Linked DNA regions of Homo sapiens: all the other regions are linked to region 1. Evidence: promoter capture Hi-C in 16 types of primary human blood cells and fetal thymus (Javierre and others, 2016). All regions are on one chromosome and are shown on one strand. Each heading gives the region's core, a stretch centred on a gene start or on the middle of the fragment in contact. The rest is flanking DNA. Distances are from core to core; before and after follow the strand shown.

Region 1 (4,390 bases), core at 1,660-4,159:
CCAAGAACTGCAATTAGGAGTCTCATAAATTTACAAAGCTTTCTCCCTTATTTAGCCAGTATTCCATCTTCGTCAATACCATATACATTAGTTACACATTTAAAACATTTTTATTAAATATACATGTCTTTTGGCAGGCCCAACGGTGATCTTAACCCACTTGAACATTTACAATTACTGCTTTAAATTTTTCATGAGCTATCTTTATAGCAAACGATTCTAACATTTTTCTGAGGATTAAAGTCTAATTCACAATTTTATGGTTTGATATATGAGACTGCATGTTTTCTCATTTATGATAACATAAGAGTTCAAGCAAGGGGTGGTTAGAGGTGTACCACTGGGAAGAAGATCTGCTAAATTTATTTTTTTGGTATTGCTTTTAAAAAGTCTTACTTAACCTGTATGTATCTATGGTAATATAGATCCAAGAACTAAGTCTTATGTTACATTTAACAGAATGAAAATCTATACTGAATACTAAAACTGGATGACTCTTTACCATACTTCCAAATATGAAACACTTTATTCGTTCTGCCTCCAAATTCTACACTCCAGAATCCAACCAATTCAGAGTAAGAGGTCCGAAGATGAATGTTTTTCTTAAGATTTTCCATGAACGCATTCATATTTGAAGGTTTAAGGTAATAAGTACGAAATTCATAGAACGTTCCATCGTATTGTCTAGGGCCCGTAGCAAAAGATGAACACACCTGAAGGAGGTAAGACAAATGTAAATATCTTGGGAAGGTACAATTACAGATTTGGTTACAACCAAATCTGAGTCTGGTACAAGGAACACACATAGACTCATTATCCATTGTTTACTTTTGTTGTCAATTCTCCATATACACTTGTTTACATAGAGATGTCAATAAAGATAACTACTCTTAATTCTGATGAATATATAGCAACTGTTTCCTAGCAGGGGTCTACCTCTAGCCATTTTTTCACGAGAATTTGCTCACAAGAAGGCTGTGGGATCATAATGATACTCCTTTACCGAAGAACTACATTTAAGACTTAGTCTCTTTAATTTACAAAGGGTTTTCCCCTGTTTAGCCAATATTCCATCTTACTCAATACCATATGTATTAGTTCCACACATTGAAAAAAATTTATTAAGTACACATGCCTTTTGGCAGGCCCAAAAATACGTTTACTAACAAAAAACTCTTGTTTTTAAAAGGTTCCTAAAAAAACAGGAAGGGCTATTCAGGTCAAAGTATTTCCTGAATCTACTGATGAAGACTACCGGTCAAAAACAGGACTGGAATGTAACTAATATAAAAGGAAGCTATAACTTATCCAATTGCATTGTACTATGGGTGTATACTGCATAAAGGCTGAAAAGGAAAAAAACTCAACAAATGAGAATTGTCTCCATCATTGTTTCTAATTACAGATGCAATATCAAGAAGTATGTACATTTAGTGCACTCAATTATACCAAGTTTATGGAACTATCCTTTAAGAACCACCCTTTGTAATAGTCATATGCCCAATGGGTAAATTTTCTGTCCTAATCTGGCCCTCTGAGCCTGAGTGAGCTTAATGTTCAGTAGCAAATGCCCTGTCAGAAATTATCCAGTCTGTCTGTATGTACGTACATGCAAATATTTATGTAAACACACGTGTATACACAGACCACTCCCGTGGCATTCTAGTTTACAAATCCATTCATTTAGGCATGGTTAGCATGTGACAATTTCCTGAGGCTCACTACCCAGAATAATCTATCGCAACAGTTTCAGTAGGCATCTTTCACTGACATATTTTTGGTTACAACATGCAAATGTCTATGTAGTTTGTGTGCATAACGTCTTAATTATAATTGTCTATCTTGAGTTCATTCATCTCCAGTATGAGTTATGCCCTTATTGCCCAAGTGTCTTAGTTTTCTTAGAAAACCCTTCTTCATACCAAAAAATACCTGCAACTATCCTTTCTTTTGATGGCCATTCTTTTTGGGTCAGTTTAATCAAATTCTGAAAATAAAAAACTGCTTAGTATCTACAGTTTAAAAATATTATTATCTCGGAAAATGGGCCAATGAGGTATTTCTAATAACTGCTTTTAAAGTTGATTTTCGGAGATTTGTATCTGGAGATGTTATCCTAAAAAAACGCAACAGCTGGCGCCACGGGGGTGTCCCGGGAGTTGTGGCATTTAGGCTAGAAACAGCTGGCATCAGGCTGGGCACAGTGGCTCATGCCTGCAATCCAGCACTTTGGGAGGCCAAGGTGGGCGGATCACGAGGTCAGGAGTTCGAGACCAGCCTGACCAACATGGTGAAACCCCCGACTCTACTAAATAGTAAACACAAAAAAAATTAGCCGGGCGTGGTGGCTGGCGCCTGTAATTCCACCTACTCCGGAGGATGAGGCAGGAGAATCGCTTGAACCCGGGAGGCGGAGGTTGCACTGAGCCGAGACTACGCCACTGCACTCCAGCCTGGGCGACAGAGCGAGACTCCGTCTCAAAAACAAAAACAAAAATCACAAAAACACTGGCATCCAGTTAGAAAACCCCTCTGACAGCGACTGCCAGCGAGACGACCCCGGCCTGTAGCCTCCTCCTTGCGCGCCAGACGGCTCCAGAGACCGCGTTAGAACTTCGGCGGCGGCGCGGGGCCCCAGGTCTGGGAGCGCCTGAGCGTGGCTCGCACGCTTCAGAAATACCCCCCGCCCCTCCCCTCCCCTCCGGCCAGGGCTCGGGCGCGCCCCCGCGGCCAGTACCTGAGGCGCGAGCGTCCGTGAGGCAAGCGCCTTGGTCAGGCCGCTTCTGAGAACGAGCATGGCGCGGCTTCGGCACTGAGAAAAGCAGCCAGCCGAGTCCTTTGTGAGACTTCTCTGAAGTCTTCCCGAGTGGAAAAAAGCGGCTCCTGGACCACTGGCGAACTCAGGCAGGGGCGGGACTCGGCGGGGTCAGCTCCACCCCGGCGCGGGAGGCGCGACAGGTCCCGCAGTTGGCGTCTTTCTCTTCGGCGCTGAGCCTCGGTCCCCCTTGGTTTCCTGAAACGTTCTTGCCCCAGACGTTAGAGGTGACAGAATTAGCTGAAGGCTGGGATCGTTCCTGCCCCACCTTTCTGGGCCCTGACCTCATTCGCTCCGATGCGCAGTTGTGTAGATTCGTAAATGTGCGGCGGTTGTGCTTGTGTTGCCCCTGGAGAAGGAAGGGGAGGTGTTCAGCGTGTGCATGTGCAGTGCTTTGCATTTAAAGTCGAGATGTTGACAGGGTTAACTTGTTTCTTTGTTTGAGACGTAGTCTTGCTCTGTCGCCCAGGCTGGAGTGCACTGGCGCGATGTCGCCTCACTGCAAGCTCCGCCTCCCGGGTTCACGCCATTCTCCTGCTTCAGCCTCCCCAGTAGCTGGGACTACAGGCGCCCGCCACCACGCCCCGCTAATTTTTGTATTTTTTAGTAGAGACGGAGTTTCACCATATTGGCCAGGCTGGGACAGGGTTAACTTTTACAGGTTGTGATAGACGTGTATTTGTAGACCAGTGAGCCTTCGCTTTTCTGCATTATCTGTCCCCATTGCCACCCCACTGTGATCTTGGAAGGCTCCTAATAAAGATTTAATTTTCCATGAGCTCAGTGGAATAGCAGCACCGAGCCTGATAGGAAAAAGTCGAAGTTAAACATAGATAGTTTGAAACTAGATCGTTCTGTAAGCCTTAAGAGCAAAACAGCCGACCTCTGGTCTAGTCCTCCCAGTCCCAGAGTACTGGTCCCCAGACTAACCACCTTCAACATTTTAAGCTGTTCTTCTAATACCTGTTTCCGTATGTTTTTTATTTTTTTGAGACAGAGTCTTGCTCTGTCGCTCAGGCTGGGGTGCAGTGGCATGATCTTGGCTCACTGCAACCTCCGCCTCCCGGTTTCAAGAGATTCTCCTGCCTCAGCCTCCTGAGTAGCTGGAATTACAGGCGCACGCCACGACACCTGGCTAATTTTTCTATTTTTAGTAGAGACGGCGTTTCACCATGTTGGGCAGGCTGGTCTTGAACTCCTGACCTCAGGTGATCCTCTCGGCTCAGCCTCCCTAAGTGCTGGGATTACAGGCACGAGCCACTGCGCCTGGCCCGTATTTTTAAATAATAGTCATTTTCTGCTATTTCTTGCATTTTCAGTTATGGAGAGTATGTGTTGCCTTCCTTCTGTGGCAGATGAGGATTTAGGTCTCACAGAAGCCACTCCCCCGGGGGCTTATCATTTGTGTTGAGAACATTCAATATCCTCCTAGCAATTTGAAACTATATATTATTAACTATAGTTATCCTGAAGTGGTATAGAGCACTAGAACTTATTCCTCCTATCTAGCTATAATTTTGTTTAACAAATCTCTCCCATCCTTGTCTTCCTCCTAATCTTTCCCATCCTCTAGAA
Region 2 (4,253 bases), core at 1,082-3,581, 670 kb before region 1:
TTTTATGATCCTCATGTCTCAGAGGAGGCTGTCAATCTCTTACTCACGTCAGCTGACAGGTAAGCAGCATGGGCCAGTTAGTGTTCAGCTATACTCCAGGCACTTGTTAGAGAATGAAATATACTCATCTCATGCCAGTGTTTATCAAGAGCTCAACTAAGACCTATAGACCAATGGAATAGAATTGCAAATCTAGAAATAAACCTACATATCTATGGCCAATTGATTTGGACATTGACACGATATCAAGACCATTCATTTGGAAAAAAATAGTTGTTGTCCAAATGGGACAACTGGATATCCACATGCAAAAGAAGAAAGTTGGACATCTACAAATATATCATACATATACACCTACATATACTCCATATATGACATATAAAAAATTAATTCAAAATAGATCAATGACCTAAATGTATGAGCTAAAACTATACAACTCTCAGAAGATAAACTTAAGGCTAAATATGTATGACCTTGGATTAAACAATGATTTCTGGGTCATGATAGCAAAAGAACAAGCAACCAAGGAAAAGACAGATAATTTGACTTCATCATATGAATGTATGAAAAGGTGCTTAACATCATTAGTCATAAGGAAAATGCAAAACAAAACCACACTGAGATACAACTTCACACTCACTGGATGTCTATAATCAAAAAGATGGAAACTTACACTTGTCGAGGATGTAGAAAAATTGGAACCCTCATACATTGCTGGTGGGAATGTAAAATGGGGCAGCTGCTGTGTAAATCAATTTGGCATTCCTCAAAAAGTTAAATACAGGATTACCATATGACCTAGGAATTCCACTCCTATGTATATAACCAAAAAAATTGAAAACGTATGTCCGCACAAAAACTTGTGTACGAATGCTCATAGCAGCATTATTCAGAATAGCGAAAAGGTGCAAATCCAACCTAAGTATCCATTAACTGATGAATAAATGAACGAAATATAATATATCACACATCAGAACATTATTCAGCCATAAAAAGAGATGAAATATTGGTATATGCTACAACATTATTGAAACTTGAAAACATGCTAAGTGAAAAGCTGACAAAAATAATTCTACATATTGTATAATTTCTTTCACGTGAATCCAAAATAGGCAAATCCACAGCAAAATAAAGTAGAATAGTGGTTTCCAGGGGCTGGGTGAGGGGAATAGGCACTGAATGCTAAAAGGCATGGAGTTTCTCTTTGGGCCAATGAAATGTTCTAGAGTCACGTGGTGGTCTTAGTTGCACAGCTTTGTGCATTTGCCAAAAACCATGAAGTAAACACTTTAAAATGGTCAGTGTTATGATATGTTAATGATATCTTAATTTTTTAAAAAAGAGAAAGAAAATAACTATGAAATAATTTAGTAATAGATGATTGAGCTCCACATCATAAGAACTATAATTAGGCCAGGCGTGGTGGCTCATGCCTGTAATTCAGGCACGGGGAAGCCAAGGGAAGAGGATTGCTTGAGCCAAGGAGCTGGAGACATAGAGGGACCATGTCTCTACAAAAAATTTAAAAATTCGCCGGGCATTGGCGGCACATGCCTGTAGTCCCAGCTACTCAGGGGGCTGAGGCAGGAGGATCACTGAGGCAGGAGGAGCCTGGAAGGGTCAAAGCTGTGGTGAGCTGTAATCATGCCACTGCACTCCAGCCTGAGCAACAAAATGAGACCCTGTCTCAAAATATATATATATACTTGTAATTTTACAACCTATAATTAAGGTATACACATGCATAAAGAAATATGAAAGAAGATTTAAATAAAATTGAGATCACACCAAATTTCTGCATACCTTGAAATGGTTCCTAAAAGGCTTCTCCGTATTTGAAGATTTAAGTGTTAATGTTTTTACTATTTGCAATAAATTCTAAATCTTGGATGATGATTAATCTGTAACTTCATTGAGGTAAGCACTTTTTCCAAGGGTACATCTTTATTGTTTTCCCCTCAGTAGGCATAATTACTGTCAAAAATTAAGGTAATACAGAAGGGCCAGGTGTTGTGGTGCATGCCTATAATCTCAGCACTTTGAGAGGTCAACGCAGGAGGATAGCTTGAGCCCAGGAGTTTGAGAGCAGCCTGCACAACATGGCAAAACCTTGTCTCTACAGAAAATTCAAAAATTAGCCAGGCACGGTGGCACATACTTGTAGTCCCAGCTACTCGGGAGGCTGAGGTGGGAGGATGGCTTGAGCCAAGAAGGCGGAGGTTGCGGTGAGCTGTGATCGTGCCACTGCACTCCAGCCTGGATGACAGAGCCAGACCTCGTCTCAAAACAAAAACGAAAACAAACCAAAAAGATTAAAGTAATACAGAAAAGCCCTACTCCTAAATCACTCTAACCTTTGAGATAATCTGGTTTTATATCCTTTCAGTTCTTCCTTTTAAGGCAAGATACGAATTGTGTGCCCTGTGGATGTGGAAGCGTATCACTTACCTGTGAGTGAGACAAGGAAACAGCCACTGTGGAGATGTGAATGCAGCTTTGTTTTATTTTTTGACCATATGCCCAGTAACTCATTAAAAGTTTGAAGTGAGTATTCCTGCACCATTCAAGAATATCCGAATTTATTAAAGTTATGAATAACCGGCCGGGTGTGGTGGCTCATGCCTGTAATCCCAGCACTCTGGGAGGCTAAGGCAGGCGGATCACGAGGTCAGGAGATCGAGACCATCCTGGCCAACATGGTGAAACCCTGACTCTACTAAAAATACAAAAATTAGCTGGGCGTGGTGGCGCGTGCCTGTAGTCCCAGCTACTACAACTCCAGAGGGTGAGGCAGGAGAATCGCTTAAACCCAGGAGGCGGAGGCTGTAGGGCGCCGAGATTGCGCCACTGCCCTCCAGCCTGCGCAATGGGAACGAGACTCCATCTCAAAAAAAAAAGTTATGAATAACTTCATCGATATCATAGTCATAATTCTAGTAGTGAATGCATACTGTACTAAATGTTTCCTAGGTAGCACAGCCCATGCTGACTGTTCTGCATACTCAGGATAATGGAATCCTCCCAACAATCAGTCTTTTACAGATGGGGAAACTGAGAATTAGATGGGCTAAGTAACTTGCCCAGGACCAAAAAGATGGCAGAGCTAGGATCTGAACCCAGATGTGGTTGATCACAGAGTCTAAACTCTGAACAACTATACTTCTTAGAATATCATAGATCTACTCCATGTGACAAAATATCCACACAAGTTGATGGGGGAAGGAATAAATTGCATAACAAATGGGCCTGACTCCATATTATATCACAAAATTATTTCTAGCTATTAATAAGTATAAAAAGTGAAAGGAAACCATTAAAAATAGAATATAAATTGTATCTTAATTTATAAAAGAAAATAATTTTTTAAAAATAGAAAATATAGGTAACTATTTAACTGATTTGGGGGCGTAAGGGAATTATCAATAAATTTACTGATTTGGGGGCTTAAGGAAATTATCAAAAATTTACATCGTATAGATTATAGGTAAAATTATCACCAGCAAAATTAAAAGACAAACTACAAAGAAGGAAAAAGATTTGCTACTAATATGACCGAAAAAGTACTAGTATCCCTAATACATAAAAATCTTTTATTCAACAGTAGGAAAAATGGTGACATCTCAATAACAAAATGGCAAAGGACATGAATACAGAATTTACGGAAGAGGAAACATAAAGGACTAATAAATTACTAAAAAATACAAATTAAAATAACAAAGGGCTGTCATCTTTTGCCGTTATTATTAAGGGTGATAAGAATGATGATATGAGTATCTGCCGGATGTGGAAAATGGTGACATTCATAGACTTTAGTACAAAGGATTGGTAGAGCCTTTCTGGAGAGCAATTTGGCAATATGTATCAACATTCATAGAGTGCCTTCACCACTTGATGTAGTAATTCCCTTTCCAGAAGTCTATCTAAAGGAAAGAATTAGCAGGGTGGCAAAGATATCTCTATAATAAAAAGATTATAAATAAAAGTTTAATAAAAGGGAATATACTTCCACTATTAAAAATCATATTTCTGAGGCCGGGTGCAGTGGCTCACCCCTGAATCCTGGCATTTTGGGAGGCTGAGGCAGGAGACTTGCTTGAGCCCAGGAGTTTGAGACCAGCCTGAGCAACGTAGTGAGACCTCTGTCTCTATAAAAAAATAAGTTAAAGACATCATATTTCTATACAAAGATGATCATTATAGCATTATTAATAATCCCTTAATTTTGAGAGGAAATTGCTGAATTCAATTATAGG
Region 3 (3,909 bases), core at 1,017-3,516, 790 kb before region 1:
AAAGTATGGTCCTAAGAACATCAGTATCACATTGGAGCTTGTTAGTAATACAGAATTTTCAGCCCCCACCTACTGATTCATAATCTACATTTTAATAAAATCCTCAGATGATTCATATGTACATTAAAATTTGAAAAGCACTGATGTAGATGCTAAGGGCTTTACATGCAGGGAGGATAAGAACAATGTCTACCTTGCTCGTCGTTATATCCCTAGAACCAGCAGTGCTTGAAACATATAAATATTTGTTGAATAAATAAATATGTAAATGATACCACTTCTGGGTAGACAATTAGGCAGTGGAGATTATATCTATTTGAATTATTTATTTTCTGCCAGAATTCCCAGAAGTAGGTGCTTATTATTTGCTGTAAATGCTGTTAAATTAGCTTAATAACAACACTGGGCCCCTGAGAATCTACAACTATATGTAACTTTTTTAAAAAGAACTCCTTCCTTGCTCTTAGCTCTGAGATCCACATGCCTCCTTCAATAATTTCTCCAACCTCCTCTCTGTGGGTATGGCCTATAGTTACTCTCTCTACAATCTCTCCCTGAAACCAAATCCATTCTCAAGATTTTAACTACCACCTGTGAGAGAAAACACTATTTAAATTACAGTCCATGCACTCTATCTGCCTATATTTTCAACTCTATTTCCTGCACCTCACCTCAAATTTAACATGTTCAAAATTAACTTTTTTTTTTTTTTGAGACAGAGTTTCGCTCTTGTTGCCCAGGCCGGAGTGCAGTGGCCTGATCTTGGCTCACTGCAACCTCTGCCTCCCAAGTTCAAGCGATTCTCCTGCCTCAGCCTCAGGAGTAGCTGGGATTACAGGCGCCCGCCACCACACCCGGCTAATTTGTTGTATTTTTAGTAGAGATAGGGTTTCACCATGTTGGCCAGGCTGGTTTCGAACTCCTTGGCCTCAGGTGATCCACCCGCCTCAGCCTCCCAAAGTGCTGGGATTACAGGCGTGAGCCACCGCGTCCAGCCCCAAAATTAACAATTTTATTCTCTGTCAACTATCGTCCTCTCCCAGTCCAGAAGAAAGTAACTAGCTCTCCATCCTCACAGTCTCTAGTTTTACAGGCTTTAGAGAAGAGAGATCAGCTGGCCCAACATCACCTTATGGAGAATAGGCTCTAGAAGAATTAAATGACAGCCAAGAGGCTAGTTATTGGCAACCTCAGCACTCTACGATCTAAATCACTTTATTCCCAGTACACTATTGCATGCTGGAATTCAACAGAATTCCCATTTTTGCCAACAGCACTTAAACTTACTTTTTAGAAACGCAGGTTAAAAATATCATCACCCAGATCCAAGAAATCAAGTCCTGCGTATTGTTCTTTCGGCATTTCCCCGGTTCCTTTCTTCTTCCTTGTCAGAACACCCTGCACTTCCTTTCCACTAAGAGTTCTTTCACCGTTCAATGCCAGCCTTCCCAAATCCTCTACCCTCACTAAACTTATGTCCACAAATAGAATCGCTAAAATATAAATGCTTATTCCTGCATTTGATATCTTTGTCCATGGCCCAACAGAGATGGTTTCCAATCGTTCAAACCCTATTTATCCTCAGAGTCTAGCTCAAACACAGCCTTTTCTACTGGGCTTCCATCTGCCCAATTTCTAATATACTGCTCTATCATTCACTTTGTCATTTGTTCACAGCTTGATTTTTACCGACTGGAAACGTGCTATCTTCAAAAGCATAAAGAATCTGATATATCATCTAGGTCCTTTTTTTTTTTTTTCCACATCTGACAAAACTGAAGCCAAGAGAAATGTGGCTTACCTCATGTTAAATGAGAAATTGTAAATTTCAGGCCGGGCGCGGTGGCTCACGGCTGTAATCTCAGCACTTTGAGAGGCCAACGCGGGCGGATAACCTGAGGTCAGGGGTCACTACCCTAACCCGGCTACTACAAGAGTCTCGATCGTCCTCCAACCTTTCATCTGTCCCAGGATTAAGATTTCACCTGATGACACGCCCAGAAGTGCGGGAAGGACTGGCCAAGTGGAAGTCTACCACGCGATGCTCGTGGACTGACTGAGGAGTACCCAGCCCGGAGCGCGCTCAGCCTGTGGCCGGCCTCCTCACCAAGGGGTAGGCAGGTGCCCAGAATGCTGGAGGATGCCCGGTAAGGGCACCCGAGTCGCCAGCGGTACCTGTCTGAAGGCGCCCACCCATCCCCGGGTACCGACCTGAGCCTCCCGTACCTTACCTCACTCAACAGCAGGCTGCAGCCGCTCCGCTTTACGGCACTCACAGCAACCGCCGCAAAAGCCGCCGTCAAGTGCTGAGCGGCGGAGGCTGGCTTGGTTCCTGCTGGGACGTTCCCACGGTCCAGCCCCAGCCTCGGCTTTCCTGTGACTCTTGTCGCATCCTCACCGCCAGAAGTTCACTGAGCCCTGGCGATTCCTCGCTTTTATAATCTAGCCACTTAGCCAAAGCCCTTTTTTATCTCTTGCCTAATTGACAACTACAGCAGCGCACTGAGGCAATCTGAGAGTTTAAGTTCTGAAACGCTTTCGACAGCGGAAGATGAACTGGAGGCAGCAGCTGAGCCGTTTTCCAAGCCCGTTAAATGTGAACTTCTGATAAACGAGTGGTTTTTTTAGTGCGTGTGCTTTGCTAGAGGGATTCAGCATAACTCCCTGAAGTTTGGTTTGGATACAATTAGTAGAGCTAGGGGATAGAGTGGAAAATAGCAGCTGCGTTCACTATTCCTCATGAAGTTGAGGTGCCTTTATGACATTCAAGATTTAGCGACCTGTTGCCCTCCAGTTTAAGGCTGGATACAATTTTGTACCTGATTAACTTTTTTCTTTTCTTTTTTTGTAGAGACGTTGGGGGCTAGCAGGGCGGGGTGTGGCGGGGGTGGGGGGGAGGGCGTCCTCACCATCTTGCCCAGGCTGGTCTCGAACTCTTGGCCTCAAGCGATCCTCTCACTTTGGTTCTTTTAACGGTGTAATCCAAAAGGTGGTTGTTAAGGCTCAGATATTAATCTTCTTATAAATTTTTGAAAACCATAATTCACTAAACCAGTTACTGTAATTATAATTTATTTCTACAAAACGGAAAATACTCCCATCATATATTTGTTTTCTAAGCTTTGTTTTTAATTCTATCAGTACAGAAAGAAAAGGAAGAAAAAATCTTCCTCACTTCCTACAGGTTATGACATTTACCAACTTTTTGTTTTTCCTTCCAGAAATTTCCTATGCACATACAAGCTTACTGTTGAAGTCCTCTCATCCAATGCACTCAGAACGGGTAGGTACTCAGTAGGTTAATAAAAAAAAGTGGAAGGTTACACCAAGAGGAAGTAAGTTATCAAAGCTTAATGGCATCATTAACACAGGTGCTAACGTGATGGGACATGGGAAAACTTGAGCATCACATACTTGCTATTGATTGAAACACATCAAATATAAAAATTCTTGAGTTTATAATGACTCCTTAAAAAATAAAATTCAGTCGTGATTGAAGATTGCCAAGTTGAAGATTAAATATTCTAAAACTTGATAAGGGAAAACATCAAGCATTTATCCTGCCTTTCTTGTATGAATTGAATTTTAGTGTAACCAAAGTACTTATAAGAGTTCCAGCTAATAAATGGAGGATGATAAAACAATCACGATTTTGTAACTCCTAATAAAATAATCGAAAGGGCAACATCAATAGATGATAAAATTAAGGTGAAAGGTTGATGGGGAACTTTATAATAGACTGGCATCACCTAAACCCACTGATCTTAATCTCACTAAATTTGGGACAAGCATATATTATGTACTTCCTGATGTGATAGAAAGTACACAGCCACACCTGTGAAGGATTCTTGCCTAAAAATTGAACCTGCATTTACTCAAACTCTAGATCTAATACAGGATATAGAGAAG
Region 4 (4,055 bases), core at 1,495-3,994, 710 kb before region 1:
AATTCAGAAAATTAGGAACTAGAGCAGGATGCAGTGGGATAGGTAGCTAAACAGTAAGTATAATATACCCAGGGAGGAAGATGGATGACTCATAGCAATTTCCAGACACAACCCAAATCTACCTTATCCACAAAACTGACCTATCTAGCATCCATTCCTCACACAGCTAATATTTTTCACCTTCAAACTTTCACAATCATCTTTCTAGATCCAGGATTTATAAGAATGATCCATGTCTTTAGCTACTGCCTGATGTAAAATATACAAAAAATATAAAAATTAATACAGGACCAGGCACAATGGCTCACACCTGTAATCCCAGCACTTTGGGAGGCCAAGTTGGGCGGATAGCTTGAGCTTAGGCATTCCAGACCAGCCTGGGCAAAATAGCAAGACCCTGTTTCTACAAAAAATACAAAAATTAGCTGGGTGTGGTGGCACATGCCTGTAGTCCCACCTATTCAGGAGGATGAGGTGGAGGATCACTTGAGCCCATGAGGCAGAGGTTGCAGTGTGACAAGATCGCACCACTGCACTCCAGCCTGGGTGCTAGAGCAAGACTCTGCCTCAAAAAAAAAAAAAAAAGAGAAACCCAGAAGTAAAACTGTCAGCCAAGATTAACAATAGAGGCACTGTTTTTCACATAATCTATAATGAAAATTTTTGTGAATTATCTGATGAAGAATAATTTAATCTAGGATTTGGAGTGGCACTTTGAAGAGCTGTGCCTTTCAGAGAATCTCATGACCCTCAGATGAAAAAACTTGCTATAATCTCAATACAGACAATACTCAGTGACTAGACAGGCAGATCCAAACTGTTCCTTCTGTGTTAATGCAATCCAAATGTTGCCAGCAACTCCTTTAGCAATCTATGTTCATTACAAGTACTAAATTCCTTTTCTTAAGCCTGGCTCTACCAATAAGAAAGAACTTTTAAACCAAAACCTTTAATAATTTTCTTTAATTTTCTCTTCCCACAGAATATTAACTAGATAGTGGTGGCATTAGAAATAGAAAGAGATGGCACCAGGAACAGGATGGAATGAGAATACAAGGTGTTAAACAGGAGGGCAGTGAAATAGGAGCGCTTTAGTTCTTGAGGACTACTTAAAATGAGTGAGTTCAAAGAAAATAAGACCCACTTACATTTAAATTTAACAACAAAAAACACATTCCAGAAATATATATTTTTAAGTTATTCAAAATAGTTCCCTTTTCATTAGTACAACTAATTAAGAACTGTTCTAAAACTAAAACTAACTATATTTCTACACCAGAAATGAAATTCTTCTGAAGCACATAATTATCCACAACTATGCTTTTAAAAAATTTTATTGATACAATGGTTATTCCAAGAAAATACACAGAGGACATTTTATTTTGTACTTGGTCATTGGGTACTTTTATCTTAACTAACACAATTTTAATTAAAAAACTATTTCTGAATTTCATTTCTGACTTCAATATTTATACTTAAGTAAAAATGTGTTTTATACCATACCTATCCTTGATCTGTCTGGCAGCCTTGGAGCCAATCAGGGAGAAGAGAAAGAAGGCAAGTTAGTGCTTTTCATGCAAGTTTCAATGGCAGTGACATGCAAGAAAAGTTAGGATATAAACCCTGCAACAGATTAGTTCATATTCACCAAAACACAAACTATAGAAAATTTATGTGTATAGTTCACATAAGCTTTCATGTGATGTTAGAATTATAGTAGAAAATCCAGACCCCACAAAAATCACCTTTTAGGAGGAAAATTTAACACTTCGAACAAATTCCAGGTGACTATAAATGTTTTATTCTTACCTTAAGATTATCAAAACACACCTCCACTTTCATTCAGTCTGATACTCATCAACTAGAGCAACCAATCTCCTTCATGGGACAACTTCCTTCATGGTTTTCTTGTACATGTCAAATTTACTCTCTAATTTTTCTTCAGAGATCTCTTTCACTACTTCATAATCGTTGTTCCAAGTTTTCTCTATATGCCTCTATAGGGCAAGGAATTCTCAGAGTTTGCCTGCTAACAAATACAACTAGGCTGCAATTCTATAAACCTTTACTCCAAAGAAAGTTGTAATGGCAGAAATTCAGACACAAAGAGACCAGAGAAATACTTCTAGCAATGGGGTCTTTCTCCATGATGATTTCATACATGCTACCAACTTAAACCTATATATAAGGTATCTCTTTTGTCTTTTTTTTTTATGCAAGCACAAGTTTAGAAAGGGAACTCAGCTATTTACTTGGGGCTGCATGGTCACACAAAATAATAAAAAACAAGTAAAAACTGTTGTCCCTTTTATATTTACATACAATATATCCAACAAAAGTTTTTTTCTCCACAGTAACCAGTACAGTTAACAATATATCAGACATAGACAAGGCTGTTTTGCTCAACACTGTATCCCCAGTGCCTAGCAAAAATGCTTAGGACATAGTAATACTTAATAATTATTAAACTTATTTGAATGTTAATTAGATATATGTAGCAATGCTTCTGTGGCCTCTCTTCTTCAGTTCTAACGTTGTTCCTATTCATTATTGGTCATTTTTATATCCACCCTAAAACATTCTGGTCTGAGGACTCTTTCTACTCAAAAACACAGAACTCAGATTTTTTCTTTTTGAGACAGAGTCTTGTTCTGTCGCCCAGGCTGGAGTGCAGTGGCACGATCTTGGCTCACTGCAAGCTCTGCCTCCCGGGTTCATGCCATTCTCCTGCCTCAGCCTCCCAAGTAGCTGGGACTACAGGGACCCGCCACCACGCCCGGCAAATTTTTTTGTATTTTTATTAGAGACGGGGTTTCACCATGTTAGACAAGACAGTCTTGATCTCCTGACCTCGTGATCCGCCTGCCTCAGCCTCCCAAAGTGCTGGGATTACAGGCATGAGCCAGCACACCCAGGCAACACAGAACTGAGATTTAAGAGATCAGCATATTATACAGTCTCAGCATTACTATTAATCAGTTGAGACCTTGTATATTAATCATTCTATTTCTTTTCTAAGGAATTTTGTTTCTTAATGTTTCCGAAAATCATTCCCACGTGCTACACAAACAAACAAATTCTGTGGAATCTGTATCTTAAGTCATGAAACTACTGTAGTACCAGAGATAGAAAATGTTTAAAAAGTTAATTTAATTGATTTTTTAATTACTATCATTAAAGCTGGAATTACAAAACAAAGATTTTAATGTAAGTGTTAAAGGAAGGAAAGAAAGGACTCTTCTCTGTACCTGATATGAAACAAGTACTACCAGGATTACTCTTTGCCTCTCCATTCCCTTATTTCTCCTAGGAAAATGATATGACTTATCTGATAATGGGTTTGAAAGGAGAAACTAGACTTTCTGCTTTTTCTCACAGCTTGCTTGCCCACAGATAACATATATTCTGTTCTTTCCCTCTGTACCATAACTTTCACTGAAAGAGGCTCCCCCTGCCCATCACCTGAGGCAGCCCCTGCTGATCATGCCTGGGTGAATTTGTCTGTCTAATTCTAGGTATTTAGTATTGGGAAACTTGCCCAATAACAAAAGCCATCTTTTCCAATATGCTTTTATCATTATTTGGCCTCTTATCAGTTTTTTTTTGTCTTATTTCCTAACTGGTTTCAAACTTAGAGAAATATTACCAATCACCCTTGCATAACCCAATGATATGAAGACGATTACCGTTTTTTAAACTGACCACAATGATTCAATTTTGTGTCAAGTGTTACTAAATTTAATAAGGTAAAAATTTTTAGTGTGTGTGTGCACATATGCATGCATGCAAAGCTTTTATGGTATCACTTCATGTACCATGCTGTTTGTGAAAAACCAGGAAAGGAATAAATGAAAAGCCAGATAATCTAGGAAAAACTGTTGTCCATGCATTTACATAGAATATACCCAGCTAGTAAAACTGAAAACTCCCATGGCTCCACTTTCATTTAGGTTCAAATTTTACTGCATATATATTGTATAAATGCAAGAGAGGTTTAAGAAGTTATTCTGAGCAATGATTAGAAGGCAGAGTTTCAAATTCTGAAGATATTTCTT
Region 5 (3,982 bases), core at 327-2,826, 650 kb before region 1:
AGAGCAAGACTCTGTCTCAAAAAAACAAAAATACAAAAAAAAAAAAAACCAAACACTAACTGTCCAGCGAAAGCTTAGCATGCCCTGAGTCCATCTATTTTTTTTTTTAACTTTCTGACTCTTAGAAAAATGTTTGCACTGGAATAGACTTTAAAGGTCATTGAATTAGCCTTTCACTCTGTGCTCAATACTGCTTTACAACATCCCAGCTGCAAAAGTACCACCCAGCCTCTACACACATTCCTTCGTAGTCAGGGGGATCACGTCTTCTCCTGGGGTTAAGTCCATCTTGGTAGTGTTCCAGTTTTTAGGAAGTCTTCCTCACATTCTGTCTGATAGGCAGGAAAAGCCAGTGACTCCACTAGGTGGCCTTTCCCCTCCTAGGACTTAGCATAGTGCCTGGATTAGGACTGCATCTCAGCTGCATTTAACAGAAACCTATTATAGTGGCTTAAACAAGAAAGGGATTCATTCTTCTCATGTAACAGTAAGCCCAGAAGACATCAAGCCCAACTGTGGAGAAATCAGGCAAGAATGCTTTCTGGGAACCAGGCTCCTTCTATCTTTTGGTTCTGCCATCTTTGGTCTGTGGTTCTGTTGGTGTTTGTAATATGTCTTTTGTTCTTTCAAGTAGGATCACATCTGCATTCCAGACAGGCCAGAGAAGGGGAAAACCAGGAAGATGGGCGGCACCTATATTGGGAAGGCGAAATTTTCTTGGAAATTGCCAGTATTCTTCAGCTTATATCTCATTGGGCAGAACTATGTCATACGACCACTTCAAGCTTCAGGGAAGTATGGAAAGGTGAGTATTTTAGTAAGGCATTTTGCTAACCAGAATGATATCTGGGTTATATTCATGAAAAAGATGGGCAGAAGAGCAATAGCAGGGCAATCAGCACTCACTGCCACAGCCTGATAGTAATAGGTGATTAACATATGTTAATTGACTGATGAAACAGAAGTCTCTTTTTCCAACCATTAGAACCCTTTAGGGGCTCAGGACATGACTATAGACACCATTTTTTCTACAACATCCCTTTAGATATTTGAATATAGTAATCATTGCTTTTCCCTTTCTCTACCCCAAGATGTCTCTTTTCCCAGTAGATATCTTCTCTAGGCTTGTCTCTGAAAACACTCTCATTCATTTATATTCCAGGTGTGGATTGACCTATAAAAAGTAATGCAGAGTAGGCAGGGCGTGGTGACTCATGCCTGTAATCCTAGAACTTTGGGAGGCCGAGGCGGGTGGATCATCTGAGGCAGGAGTTCGAGATCAGCCTGGCCAACATGGTGAAAACCGGTCTCTACTAAAAATACAAAAAAATTAGCCGGGCGTGGTGGCAGGTGTCTGTAATCCTAGCTACTCGGGAGGCTGAGGCAGGAGAATCGCTAGAACCCAGGGGGCGGAGGTTGCAGTGAGCTGAGATGGCGCCACTGCACTCCAGCCTGGGTGACAGAGTGAGACTCCATCTCAAAAAAAAAAAGTAATGCAGTCATTTCCTTTCTCCTGCTGTATATCATGTGGTCGCTATTATCAAATAGCTACCACAAAAGCACATATTGTGCCCAGACCTTGGTTTCCAAATACCAGTTTCCATTAAAAGGAACTAGGGCTCACTTGAAGACTTGGCTGATTACAGAGTTGAAACCAGGAAAGCATAAGATGAGCTTGGAACATCTGGTTGCGTCAGTGAATAAGGAAGTACTCAAAGAATGATGGGGACAGATCAAAAGTACAGGAGCCAGCTTGAATGGGCTCCCATTGGCTAAATCTGAGACAATGTGGGCATAAAAATAAATGAGGATAACAGAAAAAAGTAACAATCTGGGATTTGATATTTATTTATTTGATGAATAATCAATATTTATTCAACAAATAAATATGTATTTGATGACTAATTAAAACGTTATTTAACATATATATTATTTGATGAATAAATATTTATTTGATGAAAAACTAAGTGGGTGAGAAGAGATTTTCCTTACAGTAGAACACCAGCTAATAAATATAGGAAGAATGATGAAATTAGAAAATCATCATTATATGAAAACACCAGTAATAGCTGTTTCAGAGAAGAATGTGAATAGATAATGTGAAAAGTTGATGAGAAATAGGACTTTTACATAGTCTCAAAATATGTCTCCACAAGATACTTATTAATTACAAAGGGAGAAACAGTACATTTACATTGGAGAGACCAGGAAGATCCACCTTAGCCAAATGATCAAAGTTAGCACACAGTAATGGGACAAACGAGATCATGTGCCTCCTGATATGATGCACTGAGAAGGACACAGTTATGCCTTCTGTGGTATTCCTGCCAAAAAGGCATACCTTGGATCTAATCATGAGGAAGCTTTAGACAAACCGAAATTGAAGGTCATTCTAGAAAATAAATGGCCTGACTCTTCAAATACATCAAGGTCATGAATGACAACAAAAGACTGTGCAATTGCTCCAAGTTAAAAGAGATTAAAGAGACATGAAAATGAAATGCAATGTGTGATCCTAGATTGGATTGTTGACCAGAAAAAAAAAAAGCTTTTTTCCATAAAGAACATTAGTGGGACAACTGTTAAAATTTAAAGAAGGTCTGTAAAATGCACACGCACACACACACACACACACACACACACACATACACAGAGAGAGACCAAGAGAGATGGAGACAGAGAGAAATGGAGACAGAGCAAGAGAGAGGGAGGGAGAGGTAGGAAAAGGGAAGCAGGGGAAGGGGAAGGAGAAGGGAAGAAGGATAGAGGAGTGGAAATGAGGAGAAAAAGCAAATGCATTAAAATACTAACATTTAGGGAATGTAGATGAAGGGTATATATAAAAATTCTTTGAACTATTCTTCTAACTTTTCTGTATGTCTTTATTTTTATTCTGGTAAAATATATATAACATAAAATTTACCATTTTAACCATTTTAAAGTGTACAATTCAGTGGTATTTAGTTCATCCACAAAGTTTTGCACCCATCACCACTATACAGTTCCAGAATATTTTCATTACCCAAAAAGGAAACCGTATTTCCAATAAGCAGTAATTCCCAATTTCCCCAGTGCCTGATAAGCATGAATGTGCTTTCTGTTTCTATGGATTTTGCCTATTTTAGATATTTCATATACATGGAATCATACAATATGTGGCCATTTGTGTCTGGCTTTTTCCCCTTAGCATCATGTTTTCAAGGTTCATCCATGTTGTTGCATGTATGAGTACCTCATTTCTTTTTACAGCTGAGTAGTATTTTGTTGTATGGATATACAACATTTTGCTTATCATTCATCAGCTGATGGACATTAGTTATTTCTACTTTTTGGTTATCGTGAATAATGCTACTATGAACATTTGTGAGCAAGTTTTTCTTTGAACACCTGTTTTCAATCATTTGGGATATATACCTGCATCCCATGGTAATTCTATGTTTAACTTATCGAGAAACTGCCAAACTGTTTTCCAAGTGGTGGCACCATTTTACATTCTCACCAGCAATGTATGAGTGTTCTCGTCAACACTTCTTATTGTCTATTTGTTTGAGTATAGTCATTCTAGTGGGTTTGAAGTGGTATCTCCTTGTGGTTTTGATTTGCAATTCCCTAATGACATTGAGCATCTCTTTATGTGCTTCATGGCCATTTTTAAACTTCTTTGAAGAAATAGCTCTTCAAGTCCTTTGCTCGTTATGGGTTGTTTATTTTTTTGTTGTTAAGTAGTAAGAGTTGTTCACATATTCTGGACAGTAGACCTTTATCAGATACATGATTTGCAAATATTTTCTCCCATTTTGTGGGTTGTCTTTTTGTACTTTTGATTATGTCCCTTGAGGCAAAAATTTTCCAATTTTGATGAAGTCCAATTTATCTATTTTTCTTTCATTGCTTGTGTTTTTGGTTTCATAGCCAAGAAACAATGGCCCAATCCAAGGTCATGAAGATTTACTCCTATGAGTTCTTCTAAGAGGTTTAGGGT
Region 6 (3,998 bases), core at 710-3,209, 630 kb before region 1:
TTTTCTTTTTTTTTTTTTTCTGAGACCGAGTCTCGCTATGACCCCCAGGCTGGAGTGCGGTGATGCGATCTTGGCTCACTGCAAGCTCCGCCTCCCGGGTTCAGGCCATTCTCCTGCCTCAGTCTCCCGAGTAGCTGGGACTACAGGCGCCCGCCACCACGCCCGGCTTATTTTTTTGTATTTTTTTTAGTAGAGACGGGGTTTCACCGTGTTAGCCAGGATGGTCTCGATCTCCTCATCTTGTGATCTGTCCGCCTCGGCCTCCCAAAGTGCTGGGATTACAGGCGTGAGCCACCACGCCCGGCCCAGTGGAGGCTTTTCTACTCTGCCTGATGATTGAGTTCAGTTGCAATCTTAGCATTCACGCGGCAACTCAGACTCCAGCTATGAAGCCTGGCCTGGCAGTGGATGAACTTTGTACTTCAGAAATTGGTTTAGGTACATTTATAGTTGCTATTCCGAAGCCCCCAGAACATGCTGCGAGAGACAGAAAGGAACAGCTGGGAAATTCTGGGGCACCCTTGCAGCATACTGACCTAATTTGAAACGAAGATGTTGCCCATGATTTTATCAGTCACCACCCTGGGCATGGGGAAGTGTTACAACACAGTAGACAATAACATTCTTTCCTATAAAATTTTATTTATTACATAAAAAATTCTATACATTTGTTAGACTAAAATACAGTTTTCATTATAATTCTGGCAACTGAGTCAGTACACAGAGAAAACTTAGCATTAGATCAGCACTTTTCTTTCTAGTTCGTATTTCTGCACAAGAAAAACATTTCAAAGCTCCGTTTCATATAGGCTGATTGTTCTCTGAAGCCAGATGGAATTCCATCCAATTCAGAGCTCTTGGAAGTTAATTTCCCAGCAAGATTTGATAACTCCAACTCCAGAAAGTTAATTGCTTAATATACATATTTTTAAAGTCCTCTGAGAGCATAATGCTCCATCTGCAAAGTCTGCACTGTGTCAATAATGACCGTCACAAATACTAGGGCTACAACTGTGTCTGTGGGGCATGTTCAAGCACCTACATGTTTGTTCCCCCACATGAATACAGTGTAGTGACACTGTAATAAGAAAAAAATCCAAAATAATGGTAAGGTAAATGATTCCAAACTATGAATTCATGGAAGGCTTAACTGTGATCCTCCAGTTTATAATGGACAAAGACAAGACAAGATACAAAAATTCATTTTGGCACTATGAAATAGGATGCAAATGGCAAAAAAAAAAAAAGACAAAAAGGCATCAGATTGAGAAATATGTGGCACCAAAACATACTTCTCATGCCACATTACACAGCTGCGAGAAATCAAGACACACCGATGTGTGTTTTCTGCTCATATCACCCCATATGCTGGGCTGGGCTTGACACTGGATGTGAAGACTCAGTGCCTGAGAGATCAATAGCAGGTCCCTACTGTATTGACTGATCTTTAAATTTGGCCGCCTTATTATTCTAGGAGCTCTATTCTAAACTCAAGGAGTTCAGAAAGGCTGTGCCAGCCAGTAAGTAAAGTTGGACCTTTGGTCTTCAGAAGATAGGGTTTTGTCTTTGGTTGTTTTTTGAAGCCCCTGTCATTTTGCTTGATGCCCTTCACACTTTTCTCCCTGCCTTTTTGTTAAAGTTTTTTTCTCCTGTAATAAAATCAGTTAATAACCACTGAACTAACTTCTTTAGATTAAAGCTCTATTAGAAGTGCATTCAGTGGTCCAGAATATTCTGAGAAAGTATAACAACTTCTTTCATTATGGAGCTCTCAGTATCTTTTTATAGGGAAGAAGTCAGAAAACTCCAACAACACAACACAATCTAGTAGCATTAAGGCAACACAGCAGAAGAAAAGTTAACTGTCCCCATGTGATCATCTCTGAAAATCAAAATAGGCAAAAACAATAGGGGCCAAAAACCAAGTTCTGAGCACAGACTACAGGAACCTAGAGGATGGGGGAAAATCTACTTAATAGTCCCTGTTTCAAATCACCAGCCCCCAAAGCTATCCTATTATTGTCACATTCCTGTGGGGTATCTAATACAATTTACAAAAAAAAAAAAAAAGTCACCACCGGATTATCAACATGGTAAATGAAGAAGGAGCTCACATTTTCTAGTGGCAACTAGAATGATCCATGGAACCCATTCTATCTGCCCAATTATTCCCAAGTCTTCTTTTCAATGTCTACTTTTTTTTTACTCATATGATTTAACACATGCTCCTGAAACGACAGTTCAAATTATAATCCTAGCTGACAGGATGGGTGGATCAGATTCATACACGAAGGTCAGAATATTCCCTTTAAGTCTTACACTTCTGTGACAAAAGGGCATATCACATTTAGATACTTAGACTGGACTTACGCCCTTTTCTATCCAACATGGGAATTTCCACCAGTGGTCTCTGCATTTACTACTGTGGAAGGTTCATTAAAACTCTTCTAGGCCGGGCGCGGTGGCTCATGCCTGTAATCCCAGCACTTTGGGAGGCTGAGGCGGGTGGATCACCTGAGGTCAGGAGTTCGAGATTGGCCTGGCCAACGTGGTGAAACCCCGTCTCTACTAAAAATACAAAAATTAGCTGGGTGTGGTGGCACATGCCTGTGGTCCCAGCTACTCAGGAGGCTGATGCAGGAGAATCACTTGAACCTGGGAGGTGGAGGTTGCAGTGAGCTAAGATTGAGCCACTGCACTCTAAGCTGGCGATAGAGCGAGACTCCGTCTCAAAAAAACACCAAAAACAAACAAAAAAAACCCCCAAACTTTTCTAGGAGTGTGGGGTGGGGTAGGGGGCTGACTTTTCTCCTTTCTTCACCAGCCAGTTATATTTCCACTTTCTTCAGCCTGAAAAAGTAGGAAATGGTTTGATGCCTGACTATAAGTCATGAGCCACTGGGATCAAATTTCACAAGAACTTCAAACCCCTTGATGAGTTTCTGCCTGCTTTTTCAAGGGCCCAGGGAGCCTTCCATGTAGATGCAGCACCCTTACCTAATAGTAAGGTGCAGATGTGAAGAAATCCACATGCTTCCCTAAAGAAGATAGAGTAGGTAAGGGACTGGGGGTGGAGTTCTATTGGCAGAGGAATCTGAAGCTGCTCTAGTGGGTGACTGGAAAACACTAAAACAGAACACACCTCCGTGATTTATGCAGGAAGAAAAAACATCTTTTGCATTTCTACCTTCAGCATCTGCTCCTCCAACTTTCTACCAAATTTATTTTTTGCCAACTATGGACTACCCTTGAGTTTGCTAATTTATCATCATCTTCAACTGTTGTTGGAACTGGACATGTTGACAAATATATTTTAAGACAGTAGTATACTGATAACACTAAGCCACATAATGTCATAATGTCATAGCTGAGCTACAATAAAAAGAATCAAGTGTTTTGGTAGATGGATTAATTACAAGGATTCCCTATTTATTTCTTCTTGGATATTTTTTTTTTTTTGGCTCACTGCAAATAATCTGGTACCTTGCCCCCAAATAACCGCCAGGACACACACACACACACACAAACACACACACACACACACACACATACACACCCTCATACCTCCAAGGAAAGAAAATCTTACTGTCATGAAGATTCAGTGTTGATCATCTTGTTATTCCTTCAGATTAGTGTGGTTTCTATTCCCTAACCTGCTACTAAATTACATAAAGTCTTTAAGTTATAAAAATGATTCCAGGTCAGAAGGTGGTAAGCATCATCTCAAAAGTATCTCTAGTGGAGGCCTAATCACTTCCTCATTTCAAAACACATTATCAGAACAACTTTAGAGCAGCCTTTTGACTTGGGTTCATTAGCCCCTGAGGGGGTACAGGGGTGGAAGCTGGCCGTCTGAGGGCCCTGAAATTCTATGAGCATTTTGAGTGTTCACAGACATGTGATGTGCATTTGAAGGAAAGATAGTCCATAGCTTTCTTAAGCTCAAAGAGACCCATTGTCTCTTCAAAATAACTTGTTTTTGAATATCAAATATTAAA

Evidence for each region. Contacts are between HindIII fragments. The CHiCAGO score rates a contact against its expected background, and 5 or more counts as called.
Region 2: a contact is called between a fragment that was not itself captured here and the fragment with the promoter of NIPSNAP3B in region 1, in 1 of 17 cell types (M0 macrophages). The highest score is 6.1, in M0 macrophages.
Region 3: the fragment with the promoter of FKTN here is called in contact with the fragment with the promoter of NIPSNAP3B in region 1 in 1 of 17 cell types (total B cells); the score reaches 5.0 in total B cells.
Region 4: a contact is called between a fragment that was not itself captured here and the fragment with the promoter of NIPSNAP3B in region 1, in 1 of 17 cell types (monocytes). The highest score is 5.1, in monocytes.
Region 5: a fragment that was not itself captured here is called in contact with the fragment with the promoter of NIPSNAP3B in region 1 in 4 of 17 cell types (M2 macrophages, M0 macrophages, endothelial precursors and 1 more); the score reaches 8.0 in M2 macrophages.
Region 6: a contact is called between a fragment that was not itself captured here and the fragment with the promoter of NIPSNAP3B in region 1, in 1 of 17 cell types (total B cells). The highest score is 7.6, in total B cells.

What each region holds. Positions count from the first base shown.
Region 1 is chr9:104,762,648-104,767,037 of GRCh38, reverse strand. NIPSNAP3B (nipsnap homolog 3B) reads right to left here and starts at 2,909. Exons shown (of 6, transcript NM_018376.4): 1 at 2,738-2,909; 2 at 503-713. The coding sequence starts at 2,797. RefSeq lists silencers at 2,594-2,783, 2,981-3,180. The HindIII fragment of the contact is 4,394 bases long and covers 41-4,390 here.
Region 2 is chr9:105,427,351-105,431,603 of GRCh38, reverse strand. It overlaps a transcript of SLC44A1 not described here. Among named protein-coding and RNA genes, the nearest start is that of FSD1L, 19 kb to the left of the region's middle. The HindIII fragment of the contact is 6,517 bases long and covers 1-4,253 here.
Region 3 is chr9:105,556,488-105,560,396 of GRCh38, reverse strand. FKTN (fukutin) reads right to left here and starts at 2,266. Exons shown (of 11, transcript NM_001079802.2): 1 at 2,232-2,266. It overlaps FKTN-AS1 (FKTN antisense RNA 1), which reads left to right and starts at 2,091. Exons shown (of 3, transcript NR_184141.1): 1 at 2,091-2,627; 2 at 3,222-3,283. RefSeq lists enhancers at 2,006-2,195, 2,356-2,405. The HindIII fragment of the contact is 7,231 bases long and covers 1-3,122 here.
Region 4 is chr9:105,476,825-105,480,879 of GRCh38, reverse strand. It overlaps FSD1L (fibronectin type III and SPRY domain containing 1 like), which reads right to left. Exons shown (of 14, transcript NM_001145313.3): 6 at 1,504-1,526. Among named protein-coding and RNA genes, the nearest start is that of FSD1L, 31 kb to the right of the region's middle. The HindIII fragment of the contact is 2,099 bases long and covers 1,695-3,793 here.
Region 5 is chr9:105,410,117-105,414,098 of GRCh38, reverse strand. It overlaps a transcript of SLC44A1 not described here. Among named protein-coding and RNA genes, the nearest start is that of FSD1L, 36 kb to the left of the region's middle. The HindIII fragment of the contact is 1,578 bases long and covers 788-2,365 here.
Region 6 is chr9:105,393,971-105,397,968 of GRCh38, reverse strand. SLC44A1 (solute carrier family 44 member 1) reads right to left here. Exons shown (of 16, transcript NM_080546.5): 16 at 623-3,998. Among named protein-coding and RNA genes, the nearest start is that of FSD1L, 52 kb to the left of the region's middle. The HindIII fragment of the contact is 4,279 bases long and covers 1-3,998 here.